4 separate regions of the Homo sapiens genome follow, and regions 1, 2 and 4 are each linked to region 3. The links are contacts of gene promoters, found by promoter capture Hi-C in blood cells and fetal thymus (Javierre and others, 2016). All regions are on one chromosome and are shown on one strand. The core of a region is centred on a gene start or on the middle of the fragment in contact, and the rest is flanking DNA. Distances in the headings are between cores, read along the strand shown.

Region 1 (2,700 bases), core at 60-2,559, 190 kb after region 3:
CAAAAATTAAAATTTTATTTTTAAGCATGACTCTGGAAAGTTGTAGGAGATCAGTGGAAGAGACGATTATAAAGCAATCTTCTTACAAAATATAATGCCAGGCTTGTGTGTTGTTTTATATCTTATTTTCAAACTGGCCAGCCCATCTTATCAACAACCCTTGAAAGAGAAGGGAGGTCCTGAAGAGCCAGGTCTTTCACACTGAAAGCAAAAGACAGTCTGCTCAATCACTGACCCTGCTGGGGGAACAGATCCTGGAATTCTCTTCCTCTAGAAATGATAGCCAAGGCCCTGCCCTGCTTGTGCCTATCATGAAGAAAGCAGCTTTTCTGTTCTGAAGCACCCACTCATGAACATCTGGAGGGTTAGATCCAGAGCCCAGACTCTGTTCAAGTATCTACCTACCATTTTGATAAGATTCAAGGGAAACAGGAATCCATGGAAATAAGGATTCCATTTCTTCCTCCACTGGGATTTTCAGAAATTAGGCTAGCTTCAGAAATTTGCAAAGATCATCAGATAAACAGTAATGATAATCCCATAAAGAGAGAAAAACCTTAATCCTTTCAGTTCCACAACACTATGGACAGTTGTAGTTAGAAGCTTTCCCCAAAGCTCACACCTGCAGTGCCAGAACATAAGAAGTGACATAACCACTGCAACTTCACATTTGTACATTTGTTTTACAATGTACAAAATATTTCACATTCTGTCTATGATCTTACAACAATCTTAAGAGGTAGACACAGTGAGTATTAAGTCTATATTTCAGATGGAAAAACTCACTTCAGAAAGGTTATATGACTTATACATGGTAAAATTACGGTGACTAGGAATCAGAAGGCTTGGATTTACTTCCTGCCTCTACTCAATACCTTTGTGTAAAAGCTGTGTAAACCTTATACACATGCTTATAGCATTGATGTTAACTGTTGTTGAAAGCACTCTATAAATTATAAAATCCTACATTAATAGATGAGTAACAACTCTATGACTCCTAGGCCAGTACTCTTTTTTTTTTTTTTTTTTTGGTTGGTCTCAGTTTTTAATAGTGGCAGGGCCTCACACACTTGCACACGTGCGCATGCACGCACACACACTCTAAGGCTTCAGACCTTGTTGAAAGCTGCAACATCGACACTCTACACACGCTCTCAAACTTGGTAATCTCCTCTTCCAGAAAGTTTGTCCCCACCTTGTCGTCCCCCACCACACACTGAATCTGCAGCTTCCGGATACCGTAGCCCATGGGCACCAGCTTGGAGGCCCCCCTAGACCAGCCCGTCCAGCTGGATGAAGCGCATACAGGCCTCCAATTGGGCTATATTGGTCTCATTGTCCCAAGGCTTGATGTCCAGCGGGATGGAGGACTTGACCACCAACGCAGTCTTCTTGGCCTTCTTCTCCACATACCACCTCAGCCACTTCTCCCACAGCCGGGCTGCCTCCTTGTCTTCCTCCTCATTGTCGCTGACAAACAGGTCAATGTCATTGTCCTTGTCACCCTCTGCTAGTGTGGCTGCCTTCTTGGCTGGGGGCTCCACTTGGCACATGGGAGACACATGCTGGATCTGCGTGGCTGTGTCCCTGTGGCCAGGCAAGCTCTTCTCCAGCATGTTCAGCCACAGGCCAGCACTCTTTTCACTATACTAAGTTGTCAGACCCACAGAGAACTAACACCCATTGATAACTCACTGTGAGTTAATGACTGCTAAAGGGACACTGCACATCATGGCCTGCAAAACTATCCATAGGACCCAGCCACACGTAGGATGTGCCACACATCTAAGAATATTCAGTCAGCTCTAACCACGCTGTAGGCTTCCAGAGACCCAATATACAAAAGGGAGAATACAGCAAATGCTCCTAGTGTACAGTATTCTCTGTACTCCTAGAATACAGAGAATACAGAATCTACCTCCTAGAAAATTGTTAATAGCTCACTGCCCATGTACTTCCATAGCTGCCTATTTGTTCTCAAATCCATTCTCTTTTTCAATTACTTACCAAGCTTGTTTACTTAGGGAAAAGGATGTCTCAAGTCTTGCTAAGCAGAGATATTAAATTAGATTTTTCAGTTCTTCCAGGCCTCGGCACCCAAACAATCCTGTTAATGAACCCACAGCTCCTCTGGCTTTCCTTGCTGGGCCAAGCTTGAGCTCCATGAAGCTGTGCCAGTCTCGACTCTGCCTTGTAGCCAGCACTGCCATTCTCATAGTGAAAGGCTGTTTGCCTCTGCCAGCCCCATTCCACCCTTGAATAAACAACCTTTCCAGCTAGCCAAAATGCTTAGCTTCTTTCAACTGGGACTCTGTAATTTGAATCTGTAATCCAATTAGACATTTCTTAACCAAATTTGGCAACTCTTCACCATTTAAATTAGGTTTTGATCTTTCATTCCTCTCTCTTCCTAAGCATGGACTTTCTGGCAGAAGAACTGGTAATGAAGAAAACTGTTTCATTCTATCTCAGGCCTAGGCTAACAAAAACTACAATAATAATAATAAATGTGTAACTCTGTGAATTATAAAATCCGATGTTAAATGATTATTAATATCACCAGGCTCCTTTCATTATACTAGGCTATAAATACCTCTCCCCAACATCTTCCCCGCACTACCTCTTACCCTATCTTTCCTAGAAATGCATTTGCTGAGACTTTGTCTTTTTCTGCTTTCAGAATTTTGCTGAAGAATATCC
Region 2 (2,747 bases), core at 157-2,656, 150 kb after region 3:
CACACTTCCTGGCTTATGAGTAATGATATTACCTTTTTTTTTTTTTTTTTTAAATTGAGACAGGGTCTCACTATGTTGCTCAGGTTGGTCTGAGTAATGATATTATCTTGCATTTATGTGGTGCTTTACTTTTTGTTACACATTCACAGTAATTAACCTCATTTGATTTTCAACATCTCTACAACAGAGGTTTGGCAAATATTTTTTGAGTGGCTGCTAAGTGGCAATCATTCCACAAGGTATTTTTACATTTGTTACTTCACTTAATCCTTTCAACAATCCTGAGAGGTAAGCATTTGCTTTACTTAACAGAGGAGGAGACGGAGACTCAAGGAACTTAAATCTTAAAAAAAAAAAAAACCCAAAACACCCAAAAACAATTATTTATGTTTTACAGATAAGAGACTATAAAACCAATTAACAGGTACTTTCACCACATCAGCTTGTAAGATGAAATGGTTTATCATCCTAATGTTAGTGAATGACAGAGGTGTGCAGTCTTACAAATGACACACTTTGTAAGTCACTGAGCAATGTTTTTCTGCCATAAGGGATTTTGAGTCCGAGAAATCAGGTCCTCCTTCCTCCTAGCCCAAGAGCTTTTTCTGACTGGCTGTGTTGCTTTCCATGATCAGAGAAGACAAAAATGAGGCCAAAAGTTTGCATCTTTTTTCCTTCCTAAGCTCACCAAACCAGAAGAGCCAATTTTCAGAAGGTTTAAAAAAAGCTTTAACTATACCCACACAAATATTTCTTGTAGCTTCAAAACTTAAACGTAAGACTCTTATCCTGAACCCTTTTCCTGTTCTGAAGGGAACAAATTTATCCTGTTGTTTAGAAAACCAGAGACACAAGAGCCCTCCATTCCCTTATCTACCACCCCTTACCTCTCTCCCACGACCCAGCAATTCCCAGACACCAGGAATAGAGTAGTACCATCCCTCAACAATGCAGGTTACTTTCCTTGCTGGCTGGTTTCTCCAGTCTAGTTCAGGGGCTGTAGCACTAGGTTTTCTGAAATGGAACTGCAGGCAAGATGCTCTGTGGAAATGGCTAAGGAAGCAAGAGAGACCAAGTTTGGTAGCTGGAGACCTAGGGAAGTACCTGACTCATTCTATTCTGTTTTGTTGTTTTGTTTTGTTTCAGAGACAGGGTCTCACTCTGTTGCCCAGGCTAGTCTTGAGCTCCTGGGCTCAGGCAATCCTCCCCCTTCAGCTACAGGCAGGTGCCACCATGCCTGGCTTCTCTCCTTTCTTGATGATAGATCCCTAGTCCAGACCAGTTTTAGATGGAAAATCTGAGATACACAGTTTTAGTTTTATGTATGTGTGTGTGTATACATGTTTATACATATATGTATATATATTTCCTATTGCTCAAAAACTCATGTGTGGCCAGGTGCAGTGGCTCACACCTATTATCCCGACACTTCGAGAGGCAGGAGAAATGCTTGAGGCCAGGAGTTTGAGACCAGCATGGGCAACATGGTGAGACCCCATCTCTACAAAAAATATTTTAAAAATTAGCCAGGCGCACACTTGTGGACCCAGCTACTTGGAAGACTGAGACAGGAGGACTGCTTGAGCCTGGGAGGTTGAGGCCGCAGTGAGCCGTGTTTGGACCACTGCACTCCAGCATAGGTGATAGAGTGCGACCCTGTCTCATAGACAAAACAACAAAGCTCATGTGGAGCCAGGAGCACTCAGCCTGTACCTGGAAGTAGAGGTAGTGCACCAGGGACTAAGCATCTACAGCAGAGGGTGCTCAAGAGCCCAGTCCAGGGTCTTAGAACATCCCGGAAAAGAGGGTGGGCCTGACAGACTGATGGAGCTCAACAAACTCCCTGAGCCAGAGAGACTCCCACTATTTCAAAGACCCTCAGAAGGAAGAAAAATACTTAATGGAAAAAAAGAATGGCGGGGAGGCTTGCTCTGTGTGTGTGTGTGCACTTTTAGGAACAGGGTCTCGCTATGTTGCCTAGGCTGGTCTCAAGCCTTGGCCTCCCAAAGTGCTGGGATTAAAGGCATGGGCCCCCATGCCTGGCCAGAGGGTTGCTTTTTGAAAGACATTTTCTAAGAAGCTTAAACTATTGTTTTTCAATGACCTTTAAGAAACTGACACTGACTCTTTTTTTTGAGACGGAGTCTTGCTCTGTTGCCCAGGCTGGAGTGCAGTGGTACAATCTTGGCTCAAGGCAACCTCCGCCTCCTGGGTTCAAGCAATTTTCTGCCTCAGCCTCCTGAATAGCTGGGATTACAGGTGGCCGTCACCATACCCAGCTAATTCTTATATTTTTAGTAGAGACAGGGTTTCACCATGTTGGCCAGGCTGGTCTTGAACTCTTGTCTTCAGGTGATCTGCCTGTCTCAGCCTCCCAAAGTGCTGGGATTACAGGCGTCAGCCACTGCACCCAGTTGAAACTGACTCTTTAATTCTTCTATATTAAGTCAGTTGTTCAGAACATATGGTTCATGTGGTTGTGCTGAATACATTTTGAGAATTCACCACTGAACTGGTATTGGAGAATACTTCCAATCTCTTCTTGGACACATCACCCCAGCCTCCCTCCAAGGATGTCTCTCTGGCAGGAAAGCTAACATGGGGTCCTCAGTAATCTGGCCTCCCCACCTGACTCCAGAGCAAAGGCCAGAAACAAAATTGCTCTGAAAACAGGCATAGAATTTTGCTGGATTTCCTGTCTCAACATCTCACTCACAGGGTAGAGGCCACCAATTCTGAGATAAAGT
Region 3 (2,700 bases), core at 189-2,688:
AATCCATGGACCTGTCCAAAGTTAAACTACTAACAGCCTACCGTAACAGTATAACGTAACACTAACAGACTACTGTTTATGTTGTCTGTAAGGCTTACTACTGGAAGCCATACCTTACTGCTGGAAGCCTTACTGGTAACACAAACATTTGATTAACAACATAAACGGTCCTTTTTCTATGGTTTAGCGCTTTAGGCTAGGGCTCTGGGTTGCCCAATTTCTTTCATTCAGTCTCTATGGAATTAGCATTGTCCAGATCCCTCAATGATGCCCTTCCTCACATTCTCACTTCACCCTCACCCAACCTCTTGGTGATAAATTTCAACTCCTGAGCTTATGTTTCCCTTTTATAAGAATCCTTTTCATTCGGGCTTCTTCCAAAAGGGTTGACCTTTGGCTAGAGGTACCTTTACTATTAAGATTTGACTCGAAGATGTGTAACAAACTGTGAACACTAAGACCCTCAAAGAGATGGGACTGGAGGAGAACAAGAGATTGCTTACTTCTGATACATACACCCTACTAGCTAAGAAACAAACAAGAAAGGAGAAGCAGCAGCTTCTTCCACTGCACTCCCAAAGGAATTAGATGGATTTGTGGAAGTCCGTTTCCATCCCCCATCATCACCCTTCCTAGCTCCCTCTGGAGTCCGTCCTCACCTGGAGTTCTTCAATCTTGGACAGATAATATTGGCGGAGTCCGCTGCCTGCCTTCCCCTCCTCCAGCTCCATCTGAAGACACAGAGTGAGTCTTAAACGACAGGTTAAACATCCGAGGGGGTAAAGCCACTTGCAGGGCACTTTGAATAAGGCTTGACACCAGGTAGCTTTGCGTAGTAGAAAAAGTTTGGACTTCGGAGGCTCAGGATCTGGGTTCTAATCCCTCCCTCCCTTGGAACCCTCCATTTTCCCAGGACTAAAATAAAAGAATGGGAACGCCGCCTACCTCATACGACTTTTAGGAGGACCGAGAGGCGATATGATATAGACGGGGGGCGCTTTGCACTGCGTGAAGTGCTCTACAAGCCCGAGGTGTCAGTACTGACGAAGGAGCCAGCGGAACGGAGCCAAAGGACTGGCGTCCCGTCTCCTGCGACCCGTGGGCCGGCCATTCCCGCGCCCATCGCTTCCCTCACTCACTCCGCTTCTACCGCGTCTTCCTCTCCCAGCCTTGCCCTGACTCACCGAGGGCGGCGCTGACACAGCAGATCCGGTCGCAGGCAGCGTCCAGCATGGACTGGTCCAGGCACCTCCGACCCACCCGACGCTCCTGCCCCGGCCCGCTCTCCACTCAGATCACGCTCGCTCCGCACCCAGCCCCGTAACCTGCCGGGCCGCCACTGCACCCGCCATACCTGCTCTGGTCCGTCAAGCGCCATCTTCTCTCTTCAGCAGAGACCGCCGGCATCCGAGCCGTCTTGGCGCGCAAGCGCGGAAGCGGAGGATTGGGACCTGAAGACCAGGCAGAGAAGAATTCCGGGTCAATGGGCGGGGTGTGCGGCGAGACCACACTAAGGGAACCATGATGGGAGGGGCGGCTACTCGAGTTCAGGGGCTTTGGAAGGGGATGAGGAAGGAGTAGAACTCCTCCTCAGTGTTGCCTCATTGAAACTCTGTTTATAGTTCTTGTGATATGCCTTCCTAGTCTCAACTTTCAACTTACAAAACCCAAGGACAGAGTATTGAGAACAATCTAGGGCCACACTCAAAATGGCGGAAAACCTCGAGCCAGGGACGCAGGGGACGCAAGCGGAAGCGGAAGTAGTTAGCTGCATACTTGTGCGGTTCCAAGTGTGGAGAAAGCGGCTCTGGGTCTAGGTAGTGTGCGGAGAGGGGCGCGGGGTGGAATTGCTGCGGGAAGTGGGAAACTGGAAGTGGGAAACTGGAAGTGGAATCTGGTGCTCCGGAAAGAGACGTTCCCAACTTCTACTTTCTCCCCAGATTGAGGGATACTCCCCCTTTCCACCATGGGCAAGAAGGGCAAAGTTGGCAAGAGCCGACGAGACAAGTTTTATCACTTGGCGAAGGAGACGGGTGAGTCCGGATTCGCTCAGTCTGCGAGCGAGCGAGCGATCTCTGCCCGGTTCGCCTGCTCTTTGCGACCATTATGTACCTCTCCTGCAGAAGGGGTGGTCGGTTGCGAGGCCGGAGAAATCCTACTAGTGAAGCAGTTTGCGCACTTGGTTGTTTTGTCCAGGTTACCGTTCCCGATCTGCTTTCAAGCTGATCCAGCTCAATCGCCGCTTTCAGTTCCTGCAGAAAGCCCGAGCCTTGCTGGACCTGTGTGCTGCGCCAGGGGGATGGTTCGTAACACTCGCCACAGGTTGCTCCTGGTGGCCGCTTTCTGGGTTCTGAGCTGGGATGGCTTCCAGTTTCACTGCGGGAGGGGAACCCGAATCCCGGTCCTCTTGGGGGCCGTTTCCTTTCTTGATTGCAGAGAAAGGGCTTGGAATACGTGCCTATGATATGCTTTGGCCAGTACACGTAACACCAGGGATGAGAGATCAGTTGCCAAGAGGGGGAAAAGGATGGCTCTAGGTTTTTAAATTTCTGTTCCTTTTATAGGCTGCAGGTAGCTGCCAAGTTTATGCCTGTATCCAGCCTTATTGTGGGTGAGTAACGGACAGCTCTCCTTGGTGTTTTAAGGGGTGGGTGTATAAGGTATTTTGTCCTGTATTTCTCTCCTCCCTGCTTGAAGCAA
Region 4 (2,929 bases), core at 349-2,848, 170 kb before region 3:
GCTATATGCACATGCATGCACACACACGCTTGCACACACCCCCACTTGCACACACTTGCTTGCACGCACACACTTGCTTGCACGCACACACTTGCCTTCACAACCCGCTCGCACACACGTGCACGCACACCCTTGCACACGCACGTGAACACACACTTGCACACACATATGCATGTACACAGCCTTGCACACACACACGCATGCACACAGACACCCACTTGCACACACATACACACACACACTCTTGCACACACACACTGCCGCACACGGTTTCCCCCATTCTGTCTCCTGACTCTGCCCCTGCCAGCCTGGATGGGGGACACACCCTTCGCCTCCTCCAAGGGTCAAAATCCTACCTGGCTTTCAAGGGCTGGTTCTAAGATCCTCTGCTCCTCCAAGGAGCCTGTCCCCATCCCCCAACCCTATGTGCACTTGTGCTTTGTACCTCTCCATGTGCCATCACAGCCAACCTGGCTTTGTATCCCTAACCATTCATTTATTCATTCACTCGTTCAACAAATATCAGCTGAGCCCCTACACGGTGTCAGGCACCAGGCCAGACGCTCATGATGCATGGGGCAGGGTTACCAGGGTGCCTACCTTCCTGGAGCCTTAAGTCCAGTGGGGGAGGCACTACAGGGAAACCTCCTTGAAAACAAGACCTCGGTGGTCTGGACTTTGGGGGGTCTCTTCCCCGCCCCAACCTTTCATGGAGGCTGAAACATGACAGATGCCAAACAGCCCCAGCCAGAGAGACGGGCTGGCTTCCTGCTCCTCTGTCTCCCAGTTCTTTTCCCCCCTGAACAGGAACCCCAGGTGGATCCGCATCCCTGGACCCACAGGTGAGCGACCCCGGCGGCCCACCCACACGCACCTGAGGGCAGGGCGAGGCAGGCCGGGGCTGCAGCGCTCCAGCCACCAGGCGACTCAGCAGCAGCTGGTGCATCTGCGCGTTCTGCAGCATCATCAGTTCCAGCAGGTCTAGGAAGCGGGGTTCAGCAAGCCCACGCCGGGCCTCCGAGTCCCCCTCCCCCTGACACCCCTGTCCCGGGGGTGAAGAATGGGTTGGCGGGTTGTGCTGCGGGGACTCCCAGAGGATGTGCGAGGCAGAAGAGGGTGAGTGGTGGTGATGGTGGGGGTGGGGTGGGGGGACCCGGGAGTCTCACCTTCCTTCACGCGGCCTGGCTGCGGGGGCGCAGGTGGGACGGCCCACGAGAGGGGCTGCAGGAAGGTGACCCAGGGCTGGGGGTGTGCGCGGAGTCAGCCAGGTGGGGTGGGGGGAATGGATGGGGACACGTCGCGAGCCCCAACCCCCCCGGCCAGTGGCCTCCCTAACCCCGCAGGGGCCAGGTTCTCTCCTCCCCGCCCCGCGGCCTCCCTGCTCCCTGCCACGCCTCTTCCTCTCGGTTTGGGGCTGTCTCTCCTCGTCCCCCACCCCTCCAGGATCTGGCCCCTCCAGGGACAGCTCCCCACTCTGCCGTCTCCCAAGCTAAGGCAGGATCTGCTCCCGGGCTCAGCCCTCACCGTCGGGACTGCGCTCTGCGGTGGGGAGCGACCCCAGCTTCCGCCCGCCCCAGAGGCCATGGCTGGCGCCGGTTGCCTTGGCGACGCCGAGGACGCCAAGGTCTCTTCCCACGCATGCGCGGAGCCCGCCCGTGCTCCTGGGTCTTCCATCTCCCTGCTCCCTCCTGTCTCCTCCTCCGCGGACTTGGGGTCCCCAGGAGCCCTCCCCCGCCACCAGGAGGCCAGTCTCCTCCCCGGCATGTCCACCTCCCGCCGCGCTGCTCGGGGCTCCCCTCCCCTCCCCTTGCTGGTTCCCAGAACTGGGCCTGGGTTAGTGCGGGGAAGGGGGGTGTGTTTGTTGAGTGAATAAGCGAGTGACTGGGGAGGCTTGGTTTCGGGGTCCCAGAGCCCGATTGACTCAGCTGAAAAGTTCAGGAGAAACAGAGACTTTTGCAGGAGCAGGCTGGGGGCTAGGGCAGACGAGTGAGGAGGACAAAGGGTCTGTTCCCTGTCACTCTGACAGAGAGAGGGGCTTCCTGCCAGGAAAGAGTGGTTTCTGGAGCAGACCAAGGAAGGAAACACCGCCCGAATTCACGGAAGAGGCTGAGGACTCTGGCTGGAAACACGTGGCCGGCTTCTCGCCTCTCTCCTTGCGGCTATTTGCCCTGTTTCCTGGCCAAGGTGAGCCACTGCTCCTCAGACGAGGAAAATCGTGGTGACTTCAGCACCCGCGTCCCCAGTACTGTCTCCCGTACTGGAAAAGTTACCAAAGCACGCGTTCTTTTGACAGGAAGTTAGCAAGGTCTTCCTTGCTTAAGAACAGGTGAAGGGGGAGATCTATTTCTGCAGCTGTGACCATCCTAAGATAGGCCCCCGGCAGCAGTCAAGGAAAATCCAGACAGGAAGCTGGGCTTAGCACCCCGAGTAGCCCTTCCCCCACTCTCCATGTCAGCTCCCCTTCCTGCCAGTCCTGGAGTAAGAACCAGAAAGACCATTCCCACCTCCTCCTTTGCTCCGTAGTACCTGTCTCTAGGGGAGCAGGCTTGTGGGCATTACTTTACTGTCCCCATGGGTCTTATGGCTTCAACAGCCATTAACAAGCTGAGATCCAGGCACTGGGGTCACAGCCCCCCAGTGAGTAGAACACAGAGATGCCTCTCTCCATCTCCATTCTCATTCCAGGTAGAAAGAGAACAAGCCATTTTGCTCATCATCAACAAACCTTGACCAAGGAAGTGTCTGCGTGTGCAATGTGCCATCTGAACCCTGGAGGCATAAGCAGTATGGTCACTTGTCCCAGCATTGTTGGGAAGTGAAAATGTATCCATGGAAAGAGAGCAGAAAGATAAGACTACGCCCCGGGGATAATGAAAAAGAGAGGACTTGACCGCTGAGGGATGGAGTTCCAAGGAAGTCAGTCCTTGAT

The links. Contacts are between HindIII fragments. The CHiCAGO score rates a contact against its expected background, and 5 or more counts as called.
Region 1: a fragment that was not itself captured here is called in contact with the fragment with the promoter of PSMC5 in region 3 in 5 of 17 cell types (neutrophils, naive CD4 T cells, total CD8 T cells and 2 more); the score reaches 6.2 in neutrophils.
Region 2: a fragment that was not itself captured here is called in contact with the fragment with the promoter of PSMC5 in region 3 in 8 of 17 cell types (naive B cells, naive CD4 T cells, neutrophils and 5 more); the score reaches 7.7 in naive B cells.
Region 4: the fragment with the promoter of PRR29 here is called in contact with the fragment with the promoter of PSMC5 in region 3 in 6 of 17 cell types (naive CD4 T cells, activated CD4 T cells, M1 macrophages and 3 more); the score reaches 7.3 in naive CD4 T cells.

The regions. Positions count from the first base shown.
Region 1 is chr17:63,635,523-63,638,222 of GRCh38, reverse strand. The region is part of intron 2 of MAP3K3 (mitogen-activated protein kinase kinase kinase 3); the gene reads right to left. It also overlaps the pseudogene EEF1DP7. Among named protein-coding and RNA genes, the nearest start is that of MAP3K3, 14 kb to the right of the region's middle. The HindIII fragment of the contact is 1,408 bases long and covers 606-2,013 here.
Region 2 is chr17:63,678,417-63,681,163 of GRCh38, reverse strand. All of the region lies in intron 6 of MAP3K3 (mitogen-activated protein kinase kinase kinase 3), which reads right to left. Among named protein-coding and RNA genes, the nearest start is that of LIMD2, 20 kb to the left of the region's middle. The HindIII fragment of the contact is 1,353 bases long and covers 730-2,082 here.
Region 3 is chr17:63,826,169-63,828,868 of GRCh38, reverse strand. PSMC5 (proteasome 26S subunit, ATPase 5) reads right to left here and starts at 1,438. Exons shown (of 12, transcript NM_002805.6): 1 at 1,355-1,438; 2 at 660-731. The coding sequence starts at 1,378. FTSJ3 (FtsJ RNA 2'-O-methyltransferase 3) reads left to right here and starts at 1,206. Exons shown (of 21, transcript NM_017647.4): 1 at 1,206-1,817; 2 at 1,941-2,033; 3 at 2,197-2,302; 4 at 2,565-2,611. The coding sequence starts at 1,967. RefSeq lists enhancers at 1,048-1,097, 1,478-1,757, 894-2,093. The HindIII fragment of the contact is 8,506 bases long and covers 1-2,700 here.
Region 4 is chr17:63,997,020-63,999,948 of GRCh38, reverse strand. PRR29 (proline rich 29) reads right to left here and starts at 1,598. Exons shown (of 6, transcript NM_001164257.2): 1 at 1,525-1,598; 2 at 1,167-1,242; 3 at 875-981. The coding sequence starts at 1,584. PRR29-AS1 (PRR29 antisense RNA 1) reads left to right here and starts at 50. Exons shown (of 3, transcript NR_126169.1): 1 at 50-1,624; 2 at 2,027-2,184; 3 at 2,686-2,929. RefSeq lists an enhancer at 435-1,412 and a silencer at 1,666-1,715. The HindIII fragment of the contact is 13,369 bases long and covers 1-2,929 here.